5 separate regions of the Homo sapiens genome follow, and regions 1, 3, 4 and 5 are each linked to region 2. Evidence: promoter capture Hi-C in human tissues and cell types (Jung and others, 2019). All regions are on one chromosome and are shown on one strand. The core of a region is centred on a gene start or on the middle of the fragment in contact, and the rest is flanking DNA. Distances in the headings are between cores, read along the strand shown. Region 1 overlaps ITGBL1 (integrin subunit beta like 1). Region 2 holds the start of GGACT (gamma-glutamylamine cyclotransferase). Region 3 has its middle 22 kb from the start of LNCARGI. Region 4 has its middle 19 kb from the start of LINC01232. Region 5 overlaps UBAC2 (UBA domain containing 2).

What was found. Contacts are between HindIII fragments. The study calls those that stand out against the background at their distance.
Region 1: a fragment that was not itself captured here is called in contact with the fragment with the promoter of GGACT in region 2 in 1 of the 25 tissues and cell types used here (dorsolateral prefrontal cortex).
Region 3: a contact is called between a fragment that was not itself captured here and the fragment with the promoter of GGACT in region 2, in 1 of the 25 tissues and cell types used here (dorsolateral prefrontal cortex).
Region 4: a fragment that was not itself captured here is called in contact with the fragment with the promoter of GGACT in region 2 in 1 of the 25 tissues and cell types used here (dorsolateral prefrontal cortex).
Region 5: a fragment that was not itself captured here is called in contact with the fragment with the promoter of GGACT in region 2 in 1 of the 25 tissues and cell types used here (heart right ventricle).

Annotation. Positions count from the first base shown.
Region 1 is chr13:101,589,981-101,593,289 of GRCh38, reverse strand. All of the region lies in intron 6 of ITGBL1 (integrin subunit beta like 1), which reads right to left. Among named protein-coding and RNA genes, the nearest start is that of ITGBL1, 140 kb to the right of the region's middle. The HindIII fragment of the contact is 3,689 bases long and covers 1-3,309 here.
Region 2 is chr13:100,586,990-100,590,604 of GRCh38, reverse strand. GGACT (gamma-glutamylamine cyclotransferase) reads left to right here and starts at 1,816. Exons shown (of 3, transcript NM_001195087.2): 1 at 1,816-1,864. RefSeq lists a silencer at 1,664-2,183. The HindIII fragment of the contact is 6,002 bases long and covers 1-3,397 here.
Region 3 is chr13:99,452,669-99,456,163 of GRCh38, reverse strand. No RefSeq gene overlaps it. Among named protein-coding and RNA genes, the nearest start is that of LNCARGI, 22 kb to the right of the region's middle. RefSeq lists a silencer at 1,255-1,549 and an enhancer at 2,296-2,795. The HindIII fragment of the contact is 4,929 bases long and covers 1-3,495 here.
Region 4 is chr13:99,478,433-99,481,700 of GRCh38, reverse strand. No RefSeq gene overlaps it. Among named protein-coding and RNA genes, the nearest start is that of LINC01232, 19 kb to the left of the region's middle. The HindIII fragment of the contact is 5,130 bases long and covers 1-3,268 here.
Region 5 is chr13:99,293,988-99,297,614 of GRCh38, reverse strand. All of the region lies in intron 4 of UBAC2 (UBA domain containing 2), which reads right to left. It overlaps GPR183 (G protein-coupled receptor 183), which reads left to right. Exons shown (of 2, transcript NM_004951.5): 2 at 1,452-3,076. The coding sequence starts at 1,470. The coding sequence ends at 2,555. Among named protein-coding and RNA genes, the nearest start is that of GPR183, 12 kb to the left of the region's middle. The HindIII fragment of the contact is 3,041 bases long and covers 195-3,235 here.

The DNA of each region.
Region 1 (3,309 bases), core at 464-2,963, 1.0 Mb before region 2:
TACCTCCCTTGCCAACATTTGTTTTCTTTTGTCTTTTTTTATTATAATTCTATAATAAAACCGATTCTAACTGGAGTGAAGAGGTATCTCACTGTGGAGTTGATTTGCATTTCCCTGACAATTAGTGATCTTGATCATATCTTCATATACCTGTTGGACATCTGAATGTCTTCTTTTGAGCAATATTTATTAATGTATTTTGCCTATTTTTACTTGGGTTGTTTTCTTGCTGTTAAGTTCCCTATGTATTCTTAATATTAATCCTTTGTCAGATATATAGTTTGCAACTATTTTCTCCCATTATGTAGGTCTATTTGTCATTCTTTTAGTTGCTTCCTTTGTTGATCAAAAGCTTGTCAGTTTGATGTCCTTCCATTTATCTATTTGTTTTTGTTGCTTTGCTTTTGAGGTCTTATTTTAAAAATTCTTGCCCACAGTAAAGTACTATCCTATGTTTTCTTCTAGTAATTTTGTAGCTTTGGGTTTTACATTTAAGACTTTAATGCATTTTCAGTTGATTTTTGTATATCATGAGAAGTAGTGATTTAATCTCATTCTTCTGCATATGGATATCCAATTTCTCCAGCACCATTTATTGAAAATATTATCTTTTTTCCAATGTGTGTTCTTAGCACTTTTGTTGAAAATCAGTTGGGTGTCAGTCATGGGACTTTTGATAGGAATTGCAACGAATCTGTAGATCACCTTAGGTAGTGTGAATATTTTGACAATATTCATTTTTCTGATCCATGATCATGAGATATCTTTCCATTTATTTGTGTCTTCAATTTCTCTCATCAATGTTTTACAGTTTTTGGTGCAATAATCTTTCACATCCTTGGTTAATTTTATTCCTAAGTATATTATTTTTGACACGACCGCAGATAAAATTGTTTTCTTAATTTCTGTTTTGGTTACTTCACCGAAGCAGAATGTTATCTTATGGAGTCTCCACACTTTATTTTCATGCACTTTTTAAGCAAATACTACATGTTTAGCCTGGAGACCCTTAGAGTAAAACCAGTAACCTACATGGAGTTTACAATCCTTGAAGATTAGCCTAGTGTATTCCAAAGAAGTCAGAAAAGATATTAAATTTTTCAACACATGAATATACAGTTTGCAAAGAATTGTGAGAAACGGTGTGGTTTAGCAAAAATCGACCTACATTATCAATAAAATAATGGGTTCAAATCCTGATTCTGCTTCCTACAGAGTGGGGCTGGTCAAATGACCACATCTGAGTTTCAGTTTCTTCATTTTAAAAAGGAAGAAAATATATTATCAATCCACATTTCTTCGGAAGTACATTAAATAGTTTAAAAGCTACATAAAAAGGAGCTACTGGTTTTTGTATTCATCAGTTCCCACATTATAAGCAAGTAGAGGAAAGCACAGTTTCAACTGAGCTTTCCATAATTCCTAATAAACATGAAGCTACTCATCACCGCAGATATAGAACAAAGTAGATTTCTATAATTGCTGCAAAAATGCATGAAGAATTTTAAAAGTGGAATTACACTTTTTAAAAGTACATAGAAATGCTAATGGATGAAAATGCATGCTGTCTTTAGCATCTGATATTAATGTATATCATCCAATATGAAAATTGGCCTCCAGTAAAGACTAGACCATTTTACTAATATTCCTTGAGGTTTGCGGTTCCATCTTCTGAATTTGAAGAAACTGGACAATACACATATGTAGAAGCTTTTCACCATTTAACTAATTTTTAGTAAAAAAAAAATCACAAAATCATAAATCAAAGTGGAATGAGACATTAGGGATCACTGAATTTAAATCTCTCATTTAATCCCAAATTCAATTCAATTCAGATGCTCATTTGTTGATCATCTGCTATGTAACAGAGTCTATTTGACAAATTGTTGCCATAATTATCTGTTCTAGACCTCAGTTGAAAGGAAAAGAAAATTGTTATTATTAATAAACATACATGACATATGAATATGATTAGACTTTACAGTATGGGAATTTTTGTAACGGTTTATGCTTATTAACAATTATATTTCATAGGTTGTTGGGTTCTATGGCTTTTGCCATTCATTCATCTCAGTTTAAGAAGTTCCCATCGGACGTGGTGACTCACGCCCATAATCCCAGCACTTTGGAAGGCCAAGGCAGGTAGATAACCTGAGTTCAGGAGTTCAAGACCAGCCTGGCCAACATGGTGAAACCCCATCTCTACTAAAAATACAAAAATTAGCTGGGCATGGTGGCAAATGCCTGTAGTTTCAGCTACTTGGGAGGCTAGGCAGGAGAATTGCTTGAACCCAGGAGGCGGAGGTTGCAGTGAGCCGAGACTGTGCCACTGCACGCCAGCCTGTGTGACACAGGGAAATTCCAACTCAAAAAAAACAAAACAAAGAAGTTCCTATCTTTCTTTATTTCCAGCCCTCATGTAAGGTTAAGGACAAACATTGCAAACAGATCTACATTGGAAATGCCTATATAAATAATGATTTTAACACATAAATATTTCACATTTAAAGTACAGTCAATTCTGTTGTTTCACAGGAGCCAATGGCTTTGAAATTCTTGGAGACAAGTGGTTTTATTTCAGCGACAGATCTGTTGTGAGGAAACTGGGCAAAGTACAGAACATGCTGACATTTGCGAGAGACTTGTTGACACTGGAACAATAACATTGCTTGTTGACACTTTAACAATAACATTGAAAACCAGATTGAAGAGGGAGAAAAAGTTTCTCCACTCTTGAAAGTTTAATGGCTGTGAAGGTTAGAACAATACATCTAGCCGATGCGGGACCCAGGAAGTCCCTAACTGCCCAAGAGAATGTCATCTGCCACTAAGGCCCACCTGAATTCACAAGCAGTGACGTGCCCCACAGGAGGATTCCCTCCCTGGGGAGGGAAAATAAAATAGAAACCTTGGGGATAAAGGCAGGTACAAAGGGAGACACACGACTGAAGGGAGAACGTTCTTAAGTTGCATAGTCGGAATCCATGTTTAAAAGCAACCATTTTTTCCTATCTGAAATCCATTCACATGTTGACATCTTTAAAAACATGTGGCAGAATAAAACAAATCCTAAAGGCAGAAGTTATTCAAAAGAGATTTTTAAAGTTGGAATCCTATCCAATTAGTAACAAAAGCCAGATTAGCTGTGGAAGCCTTAATAATTTTTCGTTTTTTAAGTTCAGATGCTCTAGACCTGCAGGAAGAAATCTTTGGCGGTCTTTCACCTTTATTCTCCCATAGGCACGTTCTGTTTTCTTATCATTTTATTTTTCTCAGTTTTTAATTCTCTCAACCTTTTTCCCCTAACAT
Region 2 (3,615 bases), core at 567-3,066:
TCTTGGCTAGGCACTGTGGCTCATACCTGTAATCCCATCGCTTTGGGAGGCCAAGGCGGGTGGATCGCCTGAGCTCAGGAGTTCAAGACCACCCTGGGCAACATGGTGAAATCCTGTCTCTACCAAAAAATACAAGAAACTAGCCGGGCGTGATGGTGGGTGCCTGAGGTCCCAGCTACTCAGAAGGCTGAGGTGGGAGGATCACTCGAGCCTGGGAAACAGGGGTTGCAATGAGCCAATAACATGCTACTGTACTCCAACCTAGGTGACAGAGTGAGAACCCATCTCAAAACAAACAAAAAATTCGTCTAGTCTGCGTCATCTTTAATTTTCCTTTATCAGAAGAATTATTTATCTATTTGTCTCACTTTCCTTTGCTGACATGATTTTCCCCCCTCAAAAAAGAGATGAAAGTGGAATCATTCTTTCGCTTCAAAAAGTTAAGAATTACTGCTGTCTTTAAAAATATTAATATGAGGCCGGGCGCGGTGGCTCACGCCTGTAATCCCAGCACTTTGGGAGGCCGAGGCAGGCGGATCACGAGGTCAGGAGATCGAGACCATCCTGGCTAAAATGGTGAAACCCCGTCTCTACTAAACATACAAAAAATTAGCCGGGCGTAGTGGCGGGCGCCTGTAGTCCCAGCTACTTGGGAGGCTGAGGCAGGAGAATGGCGTGAACCCGGGAGGCGGAGCTTGCAGTGAACCAGATCCCGCCACTGCACTCCAGCCTAGGCGACAGAGCGAGACTCCGTCTCAAAAAAAAAAAAAAAAAAAAAAAAAATATTAATATGAGCTAGACAAGGTTTTTTAATACATTTCAATTTAATTATGAAGTGTCCAAGACAAGAAAAAACTGTGAAAACCAACGACTTATGTACCTGATGGTTTAGATTTCTTTTGGAATTGTACATCTGTTCAAAATACAATTACATCTGCATTGTTGGAAACGTTTGGATAAAAACCAGTTTATATAAAGGTTTCAATCAGTCCACATCCATGAGAAAGTAGAAAGGGCAGGAAATGATTAAGGGGGATTATTGCTAATCTGATAAACACAGATTTGTGTCTTTCGGAGAGACAGAAGTGTCACTCTCTCCATAGCTGTACCATTCCTACCACCTGGCCCCCAAGTGGCATTGCTTTAACCCATTGTCTCTAGGGAAAATGTTCTCTTTCGATTTTGGTTCTCAGTCCTATAATTTCTGGGGCTTAAATTAGTCCTGGAGCTAGGGAAGAGGTGATGTCATCCTTCCATTGTCTCCTTCGGCCACAGTTTCATTTTAAGAGTATTGGTAAGTAAGTGGGCAGTGTGACTAGATGGCGGTCTGGACTCGGTATCAGGGCTGTGTGCATGCCCAGCTGGGGGGCCTTGGTGGTGTGTGATGTGATAGATACACACATGGTTGGCATCCCCAAGTGTGTCTGCGCTTGGGTTCATTTGTGTGTGCATGTGTGTCCATTTGATGTGGCGTGTCCCCAAGCTTGTGGAGTCGTCTGTGAGTCTGTTTTGTGGGGTGTGGCCCAGGTGTGTCAGGGTCCACCATGCAGTCGGGGCTTGAGCCTGAGTGCCCAGGTGTGTTAGGGTGGATGTGACTTCTGTGGGGCGTCCCCAGGTGTGTGAAGCTGGTTGCGCTGTGTCTGCGGCGGGGCGTCTCCGGCGGGCATCGGCGTGGGTGGGTCTGGCTGTTAGGCGGCCAGTTGTGCGAGCGGCCACGTGTGTGCGAGGGCGCCGCAGGGGCTGGCGGGCCTCGCGTTCCGCCTGCAGGGGGCGCCGCCGGGGGCGGCCTGGGAGCAGAGGCGCGGGCCCGGCCCTGCATTTCCGCCCTGGCCCTGCCCTCCCCGACAGCCCCGGCTGCCGGCAGGTGAGGCGCTGAGCCCGGGCGGGGGTCGGGGCTGCGCCTGCTCCGCCCCCCAGGCGGGGTGTCCTGGCGCCCGCGGGAACCTGGGGCGTCGCTCCCTGCGCGGCGTCCGGGTCGAGGCCGCAGCACTCGGCGTCCCCGCGGGTGAGGGAGGAGGCCTGGGGCGCCGCCGGCCGGCGAGGCCAGCCGGAGGGAGGGGACGGTGGACCCCGAAACGCGTCCTCCATTGCCCCGCGCGGGGGCCACGGGCGCGATTGCCAGAACGGGCAGAGGGCGGTAAAAGCCAGGAACCGCCTCACGCACGGGCGCTGCTTCCCTGTAAAGGAAGCGTGACAGCCCACACGCTGGCTTTCAGAGGACCTCAGCTGAACCGGGCTAACACTTCTCAGAAATTGTTTTTCATTTTAAAGATTTCCTGTTTGTAAGGAGACTAGAAGCTGCAAAAGAAATCTAAAAACGTCTCCTGGCACTTGTGAATTTCTGATCTAAGGTTTCTTTGGAGCCATTAGTGAAACTTCTGAAATTTTGAAGAAATTTACTGCCTTGATTATTAATTATGGTTATCATTGCTGTTTTACTCTGTGGGCCAAGGACAACGCCACAAGCTCAAAAGCAGACTTAAGTGTTTTTTGAACACAGCTTCTTAACTCCACGCTTAGTTGATTTAATATTTAAGTGATAAGAAAATGCAGTCGATTTCTGGCCCTTTTTATTGTTTGGGATGAAGTCTTGCCCTGTTGCCCAGGCTGGAGTGCAGTGGCGCGATCTCGGCTCACTGCAACCTCTGCCTTCCGGGTTCAAGCGATTCTCCTGCCTCAGTCTCCCGGGTAGCTGGGATTACAGGCGCCTGCTATCACGCCCAGCTTATTTTTGTGTTTTTAGTAGAGACAGGGTTTCACCATGTTGGCCAGGCTGGTCTCGAACTCCTGACCCCGTGATCCGCCCGCCTTGGCCTCCCAAAATGTTGGGATTACAGGCATGAGCCACTGCACCCGGGATTTGTGGCCTTTTTTAAAAGCAAGTTATTCGTTTTGCTAAATGTCCCAGGAGAAATGATTAATGAAAAACTAAAGGTGACCTATTTAAAGTGTAGGTCTTACACACACGTAGGTGTCCTTATGTACATTTACCTGTAAGTGAAGACTTTTCCCTGGCCTCATTCAATTTATTGAAATGCTCAGATGAAGAGCACCTGCAGTTTGCCCGTATTTTCCCAAAATGCCTTGTTTTCCTGAAACTATTCCCAGAAGAAGCCAGACTTCCCTGAATAAGCAGACCACTGTGTTCTAGCAGAGATTCGTATTGTAAAAGCTGAGTTTGCAAAGTTAAATTAATTTCTAATTGGTGGATTTTTGTACGGAAATACTTTGGGCTAGTTGATTTTACTAACCAGGCCCTAACTACTACTAGTTAGGAGAGGGTGGTTGTTTGTGGTGATCTGGATAGTAGGTAGCAGTAAGCAGAATAGAAGAGGGATTTTAAAATGATCTGTTCATTTCTCTCTTTACTAGTAAGATTTCCAATCTGTGTCCATTCTTGAAGTGAAGTCATTGGGAGGCTTTGTATCCACCTCGAGCCAGGGCCCTTACCAGTGATTAGGACACCAGCAGGCTGGTGTGGAAGTGTAGTGCAGCCATGCTTGAAGAGGGGACAGGACCCAAGGAAAGGTGACAGTAAGAGGACAGAAACACGAAATATTCGCAGCCCTCTTTAGAACATCCTCCATCTAGGCAAACTCTATTAGGAATTTTAAG
Region 3 (3,495 bases), core at 196-2,695, 1.1 Mb after region 2:
TTTATGCCCCAATAACACCAAGAAATCATCCCTGAGGGCACCATGTAACACGTATAATGTTATCAGATTTAGAGGTGCTGGGCACTCCTGTGATCTGTAAGGAACACCCACTACTGTCCTTGTGGAGAAAATGAGGCCCAAGGCAGTTAGGTCACTTGTCCAGCTTATAGCCATCAATGTCTGATGGATTTCCAACAGCAAAAGTTGTTTTGCAGCCAGCCAGGCACTTGGTAGTGCGTGCCTATAATCCCAGCTAATGGGAGGAGTTCAATTCCAGCCTGAGCAACATAATGAGACCGCATCTCTCTCTCTCTCTCTTTTTTTTTTTTTTTTTGAGACGGAGTCTCTCTCTGTCCCCCACGCTGGAGTGCAGTGGCGCGCTGTCGGCTCACTGCAAGCTCCGCTTCCCGGGTTCACGACATTCTCCTGCCTCAGTCTCCGGAGTAGCTGGGACTACAGGCACCTGCCACCACGCCCGGCTAACTTTTTTGTATTTTTAGTAGAGACGGGGTTTCACCATGTTAGCCAGGATGGTCTCGATCTCCTGACCTCGTGATCCACCCGCCTCGACCTCCCAAAGTGCTGGGATTACAAGGGTAAGCCACCGCGCCCGGCCAACCCCATCTCTTACAAAAAAAAAAAAAAAAAATGTTGTTTTGCCCCAGCAGCAGAATGGATTCTGATTTAGGGGCAATAAGATGTCTGTTAATGGAGATAGATGAAGAGGCAGGCTGTTTCTGAATCCCTGTGCCTGTTTTAAGTCTTTCTGTGCCATTGGTTAAAAGCCTTATTGAAAAATAATTTACATGCCATAAAATTCACTCATTTTAAGTGTACAATTCAATGATCTTTACTACATTTACAGAGCTGCACAGCCATCACCACAATCCTATTTGAGAACATTCTCATCACCTTAAAAGATCCCTCATGTCCATTTGCAGTTTATTTCCCCCAGAAGAAACTACTTGCATTGGAATCCTTTTCTTGGGGTCTGATTCTGAGGGAACCCAAAAGAAGACACTCCCTGCCACGGTGTGCAATACATACTGAGCCTAACGTGGACGCCCATTCCGCTCCAACCTAGATCTGCCACGCTCATCAATCATCCCCGACACATCAAAACCAGCTGCTATCATTAAAAAACAGATAATAACAAGTGTTGGTGAAGATGCAGGGAAATAGGAACCCTCATAGCCCATCAGTGGGATTGTAAAGTGGTGCAGCTGGTATGGAAACCAACCTGGCGGGTCCTGAGAAGGTTAACACAGAGTCATCACGTGACTCCACCACTCTACTGCATGGTAGATACCCAAGAGAACATATGTTCACACAAAAACTTCCAGACATCTCTTCCTAGCAGCATTATTCATAACGGCCCCAAAGTGAAAACAACTAAAAGTCCATCAACAGATAAACAGATAAAACAGAGAGGACTTCCTTATTTTGCTGACTCAGGTTGACCCCAATCTGATGTTTTTTGGAACTCTGCTCCATCTCAAAGTTTGGTTTGATTAGGTGGAACTTAGCACAAGTGACTCTATCCTGGTTTGGTCTGGTCTACTGGGGGCTACCTAGTGTAGGAGGCAAGTCCAAAACAGTGGACTCCCATAAACTTTTTTTTTTTTTTTTGAGACAGAGTCTCACTTTGTTGATCAGGCTGGAGGGCAGTGGCATGATCTTGGTTCACTGCAACTTTAACCTCTTGGGGCTCAAGCAATCCTCCCACCTCAGCCTCCGGAGTAGCTGGGACTACAAGCACATGCCACCATGCCCAGCTAATTCTTGTATTTTTTATAGCAATGGGGTTTTACCATGTTGCCCAGGCTGGTCTTGAACTCCTGGCCTCAAGCGATCCTCCTGCCTTGGCCTGCCGAAGTACAGGGATTATAGGCGTGAGCCACTGCCCCCAGCCTTTATATACCATTTTAACGAAGGGAAATAGACTGTGGAGAGGCGACTCAACAAAGGAGAAAGGGAGGCAGGGTTTGGGCTTCTAGGGGTGGAAAATTGTGGAAAGGTGACTAGGAAACATATGGTGAATAAGGTTTGTTTTGCAGATAAAAACCATTTGGAGTTAGTCTCCTCATGGTATGAGAGACATCAGAAGAGGGGGATACTTTACAAATGGAATTTTATGTCACCTTTACAAAGGGAAATTTATGGCCTACTTGGAAACAGCAGAAGGAAAGAGAGTTCCTTTGGTGTCTGCTGTTTCTTAATTGCCCTCAACTCGAAATAATCTTATGCCACAGTGGCATATTTTGGAGGTGGCATATTCTGATCCCCTCCAAAAGACTGGAATGGAGCAACAAGAGGAGCTGAATCCACTTGCCAATCCACTTGCTAATCCATAGAAGCCAGGTAGTTCAATCAATTGAAAAAAAAACACACGATTCCAGATCGCTTTCTTTGTGCACTTAATTAGTAACCCTGCATGGTAAGCAAGGCACTGTCTGGCAAGGACAGTCACAGGCAAGATGCCCATCCACTGTCAACATGATGATGCCATGTTAGGACTAATATTTTCATGAGCTCAGAAATGGGTGAGGGTGAGGGGTCCCAAATTAGAGTGCATGGCCTTCTGGTGAGTCTCAAGAATTGGAGGTGTGAAAAGAATGTGTTTTTTTATTATTGAGCAGAGCGCTAGGGCTTGAAACTGGGAGCCAGTGGTGTGGCTCTGCTGGTCAGAGAGTTTTCCCTGAGCAGCCTGCTGGGAGTGAAATTGAGTAGGAGCCGCTGCACTGGTCAATTTGCCTCCCAGCAGGCCCAGGGCTGCAGACCTAAAGCCAGCCTGAGCCAGGGAGACTGAACCTGGACCAGGGCAGGAGGAGGAGCGTGGGCTGCGCTGCACGGCTGGGGCTTTCTTTGTTGCAAGATGCATTGATTCTTAGCAAACTGCTTCGCTTGTCTCTGGAGTCTGAAGCTTTTTTTCCAGAACCCAGAACCTTGATTTTTAGTGATCTCACAACAGGCCTGGGCCACAGCAGGATGGTTTCTGTATGATCTAAGTCTTGGAAGCAGGAAATAAAAAGGGAGAAAAATATTGCAGCACACACCTTCAGTGGTAGAAAAAAAAATGTGTATTCCGATGAAAAACTATGCATCATCTCTAACCCACTCTTATGCCTTGTCAGAGTAGGATTTTTTTCCTTCTGATTCTGAGTCATATTCTGAGCTATTTTACAACTCTGCAAACTACAGATAACAGAAAACAGCCATGTGAATTCTGTCCTGTCTGATAGAGGTCTGGCTGACTCCCCTCTCCAACCTGTTAAAAAGAAACAGTTTTTAGGCCGGGCGCAGTGGCTCACGCCTGTAATCCCAGCATTTTGGGAGGCGGAGACAGGCAGATCATGAGGTCAGGAGATCGAGACCATCCTGGCTAACAGGGTGAAACCCCTCTCTACTAAACATACAAAAAATTAGCCAGGCGTGGTGGCGGGTGCCTGTAGTCCCAGCTATTTGGGAGGCTGAGACAGGAGAACGGCGTGAACT
Region 4 (3,268 bases), core at 693-3,192, 1.1 Mb after region 2:
AGGAACTTTACTATTTTATCTTGTTTAACCAGCAAAACTACCAATAAATACTTGTTTAAACATTTTAGACAGCTGATATAAAACATAATAAAGCCTGTAGGCGAGCAGGAACATGTTGACTTCCCCAAGTTTTTCCTCCTCATACCTGTGGTCACAAGAGTGAGATGGTTTGAATGACCTTTTATTCCCTGAGAGGTTCTTAACTTTATTGTGCATGAGAATTACCATATAGAATGGAAGGCGAAACTCCAAGCTGAATGTTGAAAGCTACTTAAAGAACGTTTAAGGGCAGTTTTGGCCTTCAGTATTTTTGCCAAATGTGCTGATTTTAAAACCTAATACCCAATTCAGCCACACTCCACTATAGTTGTGGCCTCTAGCTAGGGCTGTTAGAATACAGTATTATCAGTTACATTTAAATTTCAGAAAAGTCCAGGCGTGGTGGCTCACGCCTGTAATCTCAGCAATTTGGGAGGCTGAGGCAGGCAGATCACCTGAGGTCAGGAGTTTTGAGACAAGCCTGGCCAACATGGTGAAACCCCATCTGTACTAAAAATACAAAAATTAGCTGGGTGTGGTGGCATGTGCCTGTAATCCAAGTTACTTGGGAGGCTGAGGCAGGAGAATCACTTGAACCTGGGAGGCAGAGGTTGCAGTGAGCCGAGATTGCACTGTTGCACTCCAGCCTAGGTGACAGAGTGAGACTTCATCTCAAAAACAAACAAACAAACAAAAAGAATAAATTTCATATAAATAGCAAATAAATTTTTAGTATAGGTATGTCCCATGTTTATTTGGGGCATAATTAATAAACAATTTATTTGTTGTTTATTTTTATTTTCTAAATCTGGATCCGTGGTTTATAAGGTTTATAGCAAAGACTCAAAAGGGGCCCACACAATTTAGATGCATTGAAATAAAACTCTGGGAGGAAAACACTTGCAATAAAATTAAGTTATTACACAACAGTAAGAAACAGATGAACTGTCCCTATATAAAAATGCACAAAGGACATGAAGAGATAATTTACACACAAAAAAAGACATATAAATGGCAAAAAGCATTTAAATAAATATTCAGCCTTATTGTATTAACGTAATTGCATATTTTTTAAGAAAACGAAAAAAATACTTTTTTTAAAGCTACTAAGGAAGCAGTGATAATACCCAACTTATTTCACACCCTGATGATGAGTGGTTTTTTGTTTGTTTGTTTGTTGTGTTTGTTTTGAGATAGACTCTCACTTGGTCACCCAGGCTGGAGTGCAGTGATGCGATCTCAGCTCACTGAGAACCTTGACCTCCCAGGTTCAAGCGATCCTCCTGCCTCAGCCCCTCAAGTAGGTGGGACTACAGGTGTATCCCACCATGCTCAACTAACTTTTTTGTATTTTTTGTAGAGATGGAGTTTCACCATGTTGGCCAGCTGGTCTTGAACTACTGAGTTCAAGCGATCCACCTGCCTCCACCTCCTGAAGTGCTAGAATTACAGGCGTGAGCCACAACACCTGGCCTGTGACAAGTGTCTAATAGCCTTTCTGTAGGACAGTTTGGCATTACGTATTTTTTAAAAGCCTTAAGAATATGCAATTTGAAAGAACAATTATACTTCTTAGAATCAGTCCTAGGGAAACATTTAGAATATATGAAAAAATTTAGCTCCAAGTATGCTTATCAGTATAATGTTTTTATTAGTAAAAAATAGAAACTGGCCTGTGTGGTGGCCTGTATTAAGGAGTTGGTGAATGCTTCATAAAAACCTTGTTAATCTGACACAGGGGCCCATATGCTGGTCTTGCATCAGTGTGCCTTTAACATTAATGATTAATTTATAGAGAAATTGAACATATTTTATCTCTCAAAATTGGCCCATACAATCTCACTCGTCCACCTCTTCCGCAATAGTCCCTGGGCCTTGAGGAGTTGAATAGCTTTAAGTTTTGGCCCTGTATGCAGTTTATTTTGATTGGCATCTTCTACTGGACCTGAAGATGGGTCTTCAATTACTGTCAGCATTTAAAATTTAGCAGTACTTGATGTCCTTTTTAGACCCAGGAGTCAAAGCCCTGTAACTCAATGTCACAAGTACTTTAAAAGTGCATACAGAGAGATACACGGATGTAATAACCTGAATTTAAAAAAATTTTAAATCTCAGTTTTTTCCTAAGCAAACCAAAACTTAATAATAATGCGACAACTTGACCATATAAAAGTTTTTGGTTTTTAAAAAAATAAATCCTCTTATTGTGACTTACACAGATGGTTCATCATATGCTTGGACTTTCTGGTTTGTCCTGAACATCCCTCCTTCTTAAACAACCAGTCATTTTACCCTAGGACTAAATTTATCATACAAGATTCTTTCTCATATGAAATTATTTCTCTTTAAGTTTCTTACCAAAAAAAACCCTCATTATTTTTATAACTTTCTTTACATCTCTCTTATTTCCTGGTTCCTTTTACCTTGTTTTATACATGACCTTTAAATAAGCTTTGAATTAGACAAAAAATTGTTCAAATGTTTTTTTTTTTGAGACAGAGTTTCGCTCTTGTCACCCAGGCTGGAGTGTAATGGCACAATCTCTCCTCACTGAAACCTCCACCTCCCAGGTTCAAGTGATTCTCCTGCCTCAGCCTCCCGAGTAGCTGGGATTACAGGCACCCGCCACCATGCCCAGCCAATTTTTTGTATTTTTGGTAGAGACAAGGTTTTGCCATGTTGGCCAGGCAGGTCTTGAACTCCTGACCTCAGCTGATCTGCCCACCTCGGCCTCCCAAAGTGCTGGGATTATAGGCATGAGCCACTGCGCCCGGCCACTGTTCACCATTTTTTTTTTTTTTTTGAGATGGAGTCTCGCTCTGTCCCCCAGGCTAGAGTGCAGTGGCGTAATCTCAGCTCACTGTGAGCTCCGCCTCCTGGGTTCATGCCACTCTCCTGCCTCAGCCTCCCGAGTAGCTGGGACTACAGGTGCCTGCCACCATGCTCGGCTAATTTTTTGTATTTTTGGTAGAGACAGGGTTTCACCGTGTTAGCCAGGATGGTCTCGCTCTCCTGACCTCATGATCCACCCGCCTCGGCCTCCCAAAGTACTGGGATTACAGGCGTGACCCACCGTGCCCAGCTAAGTTCACCTTTTTTAAAAGGACAGATTTTTTTTTTTTTTTTTAGAAATAATGTTTTCCTATAAATATATTTTTATTGGAAAATACCCAAATAATGAAATATTTATCATTTAGTTTAATATAACTTTAGATTCTAAATTATGAGT
Region 5 (3,627 bases), core at 466-2,965, 1.3 Mb after region 2:
AGGTTATAATGACTAACCTATCAACACTGTACAGAATGCATACCTCTAACATAACATGACCACAATCCTCTGCTAACCCTCAGTGTCTATGAACATCTCAGTTTTAAGGTTGTTAGAATGAAGTTAGCTGAGATCCAAGTCATTTAATACAGCAGGGAGAGAAGCAGATTTGCAGACAGTGCTTTTGATCAGGGTAGAGATAGTCTTTAAGGAAATACTGTATAGTTCTTTAAATATACAGTAGCAACATCACTAGATATGCTGAAAGTGCCCCTTAATTTTGGTGACTTCCAGGTGAGATTTATGTACACACAGTTCTATCAGAGGAATTATTTTTCTTTTAAAAATAATCACACAGGATTTATTGCTCTGTTCTTCCTGCTTTAATCAAAGTTTACCCTCATCTACAGAACTTTATTGTAGGAGTTTTCCATTTTTCAATTTAGTACTTAAAATTTCTGCTTTAACATTATTTATAACAAGAAAAGAATTGGAAAGAATCCAAAAGTTCATCAAGGGAGTAGCTAAGCAAATTATGCATTGACACATTGGAAGACTGTAGAATATCTATCAAATGTTTATATAAAATATACACGACAAATATATACATTGCACTGACATGAAGATGTTTGGTGAATAAAGCAAGAAACAAAATATAAAGTGTGATGCTTGCTACTATGTGCAAAGGTAGAAGTATAGATTGCATGGATCCATGGAGTACTTGCAGATTGATAGAGTTTTAAAATTTAATAATTTCCCCTTGAAGTAGCTTAAGTCTTTTTCTCTCTCATTTTCTTTATCTTTCTTCTTTTTTTGTCATTTTAGTCATGGTTGTTGCGGTCGTCGTCTTCTTCTTTTTAAAAAGAAAATCTAACTTTCAGTTCCTAACATGGACTAAGCCTATTTCTCAGACTTTTAGGTTAACACAAATCAGATCACTGTGGTAAGTTCATATTTCACTACATAAATGTGGTGACTGATTTCATTTCCTGGCAGTGATATGCATTTGGTTAAAAAAAAATCCAACTGAAATTAAATTTAAAAGCAAAGCTTAATGCCTGTCTGAAATGTGGGGTGCTTTACTTAACCAGACAATGATTCAAAAAAGGGAAGGGGAATTTCTGCCTAAAAATTTAGTGCATTCCCTTCTGTCACAAAAGTGCGTTTGCCCTATTTAAATGGTTCTGTTTCCTTTGCCAGAGCTTTGCCAAAGTCAGCAAATTGTGAGAGTAAAAACACAAATTTTATTCTGTTCTTCCTGTTATCATATATGTAACCATATTATAATTATAAACTGTTAAAAATTGCATGTCATGAAATTTTAAAACTTAGATATATAAAAGACAGTTTGGATTGCTTTGATACATTATTTAAACTTTTTTAAAACTAATGAGTAATCAAACTGAATACATATGCTTTTACTTATATGATCCTTCTTGGTTTTTTTCTAGACACCTGGACCACCACCAATGGATATACAAATGGCAAACAATTTTACTCCGCCCTCTGCAACTCCTCAGGGAAATGACTGTGACCTCTATGCACATCACAGCACGGCCAGGATAGTAATGCCTCTGCATTACAGCCTCGTCTTCATCATTGGGCTCGTGGGAAACTTACTAGCCTTGGTCGTCATTGTTCAAAACAGGAAAAAAATCAACTCTACCACCCTCTATTCAACAAATTTGGTGATTTCTGATATACTTTTTACCACCGCTTTGCCTACACGAATAGCCTACTATGCAATGGGCTTTGACTGGAGAATCGGAGATGCCTTGTGTAGGATAACTGCGCTAGTGTTTTACATCAACACATATGCAGGTGTGAACTTTATGACCTGCCTGAGTATTGACCGCTTCATTGCTGTGGTGCACCCTCTACGCTACAACAAGATAAAAAGGATTGAACATGCAAAAGGCGTGTGCATATTTGTCTGGATTCTAGTATTTGCTCAGACACTCCCACTCCTCATCAACCCTATGTCAAAGCAGGAGGCTGAAAGGATTACATGCATGGAGTATCCAAACTTTGAAGAAACTAAATCTCTTCCCTGGATTCTGCTTGGGGCATGTTTCATAGGATATGTACTTCCACTTATAATCATTCTCATCTGCTATTCTCAGATCTGCTGCAAACTCTTCAGAACTGCCAAACAAAACCCACTCACTGAGAAATCTGGTGTAAACAAAAAGGCTCTCAACACAATTATTCTTATTATTGTTGTGTTTGTTCTCTGTTTCACACCTTACCATGTTGCAATTATTCAACATATGATTAAGAAGCTTCGTTTCTCTAATTTCCTGGAATGTAGCCAAAGACATTCGTTCCAGATTTCTCTGCACTTTACAGTATGCCTGATGAACTTCAATTGCTGCATGGACCCTTTTATCTACTTCTTTGCATGTAAAGGGTATAAGAGAAAGGTTATGAGGATGCTGAAACGGCAAGTCAGTGTATCGATTTCTAGTGCTGTGAAGTCAGCCCCTGAAGAAAATTCACGTGAAATGACAGAAACGCAGATGATGATACATTCCAAGTCTTCAAATGGAAAGTGAAATGGATTGTATTTTGGTTTATAGTGACGTAAACTGTATGACAAACTTTGCAGGACTTCCCTTATAAAGCAAAATAATTGTTCAGCTTCCAATTAGTATTCTTTTATATTTCTTTCATTGGGCACTTTCCCATCTCCAACTCGGAAGTAAGCCCAAGAGAACAACATAAAGCAAACAACATAAAGCACAATAAAAATGCAAATAAATATTTCATTTTTATTTGTAAACGAATACACCAAAAGGAGGCGCTCTTAATAACTCCCAATGTAAAAAGTTTTGTTTTAATAAAAAATTTAATTATTATTTCTTGCCAACAAATGGCTAGAAAGGACTGAATAGATTATATATTGCCAGATGTTAATACTGTAACATACTTTTTAAATAACATATTTCTTAAATCCAAATTTCTCTCAATGTTAGATTTAATTCCCTCAATAACACCAATGTTTTGTTTTGTTTCGTTCTGGGTCATAAAACTTTGTTAAGGAACTCTTTTGGAATAAAGAGCAGGATGCTGCAAAGTTATGAGTCTGTCCCTCAATGCTCCCTGTCAACTATCAGTGGGAGTGTCAGGGAAAAGATAATTGGCAATAGACTTTGAACTGCAACATTATAAATGATGATGATGATGACTGAGGCAATGAAAGCACTGAGCTTTTCCTGGAGCTGCCAGCACAGTCTTTTAGGGCCTCTGCTTAGCAATATGAAAAAGACTTTATATGGAGGTGCCCATTGGGAGGAGGGTCTGCTTGCTAAATTCATCTTGAGAATAAAAGACATGCCTATATGATTGGTTTTCTTGGGATCACTAGGGGATCATTTCTCTTTTCTTCCCCCAAGCTGTTAGTACTCTACATCTGTATTTCAATGGTTTGAGTTATCAAGTAGGAGAAGGGTGGTGCATGATGAGCAGTGAAAAATATAGCTGCTGCTTGCTAAATACGATCCGAGTAAAATGCAAACTTACAAAATTAAGCATCTTAGGATTCTTTACAATATTATATACTTGCTGAAATGAGTACCTTAGTATGAGTAGCATGACCTTTCCAGGTAGTCAACTGGTCTGCCTGTT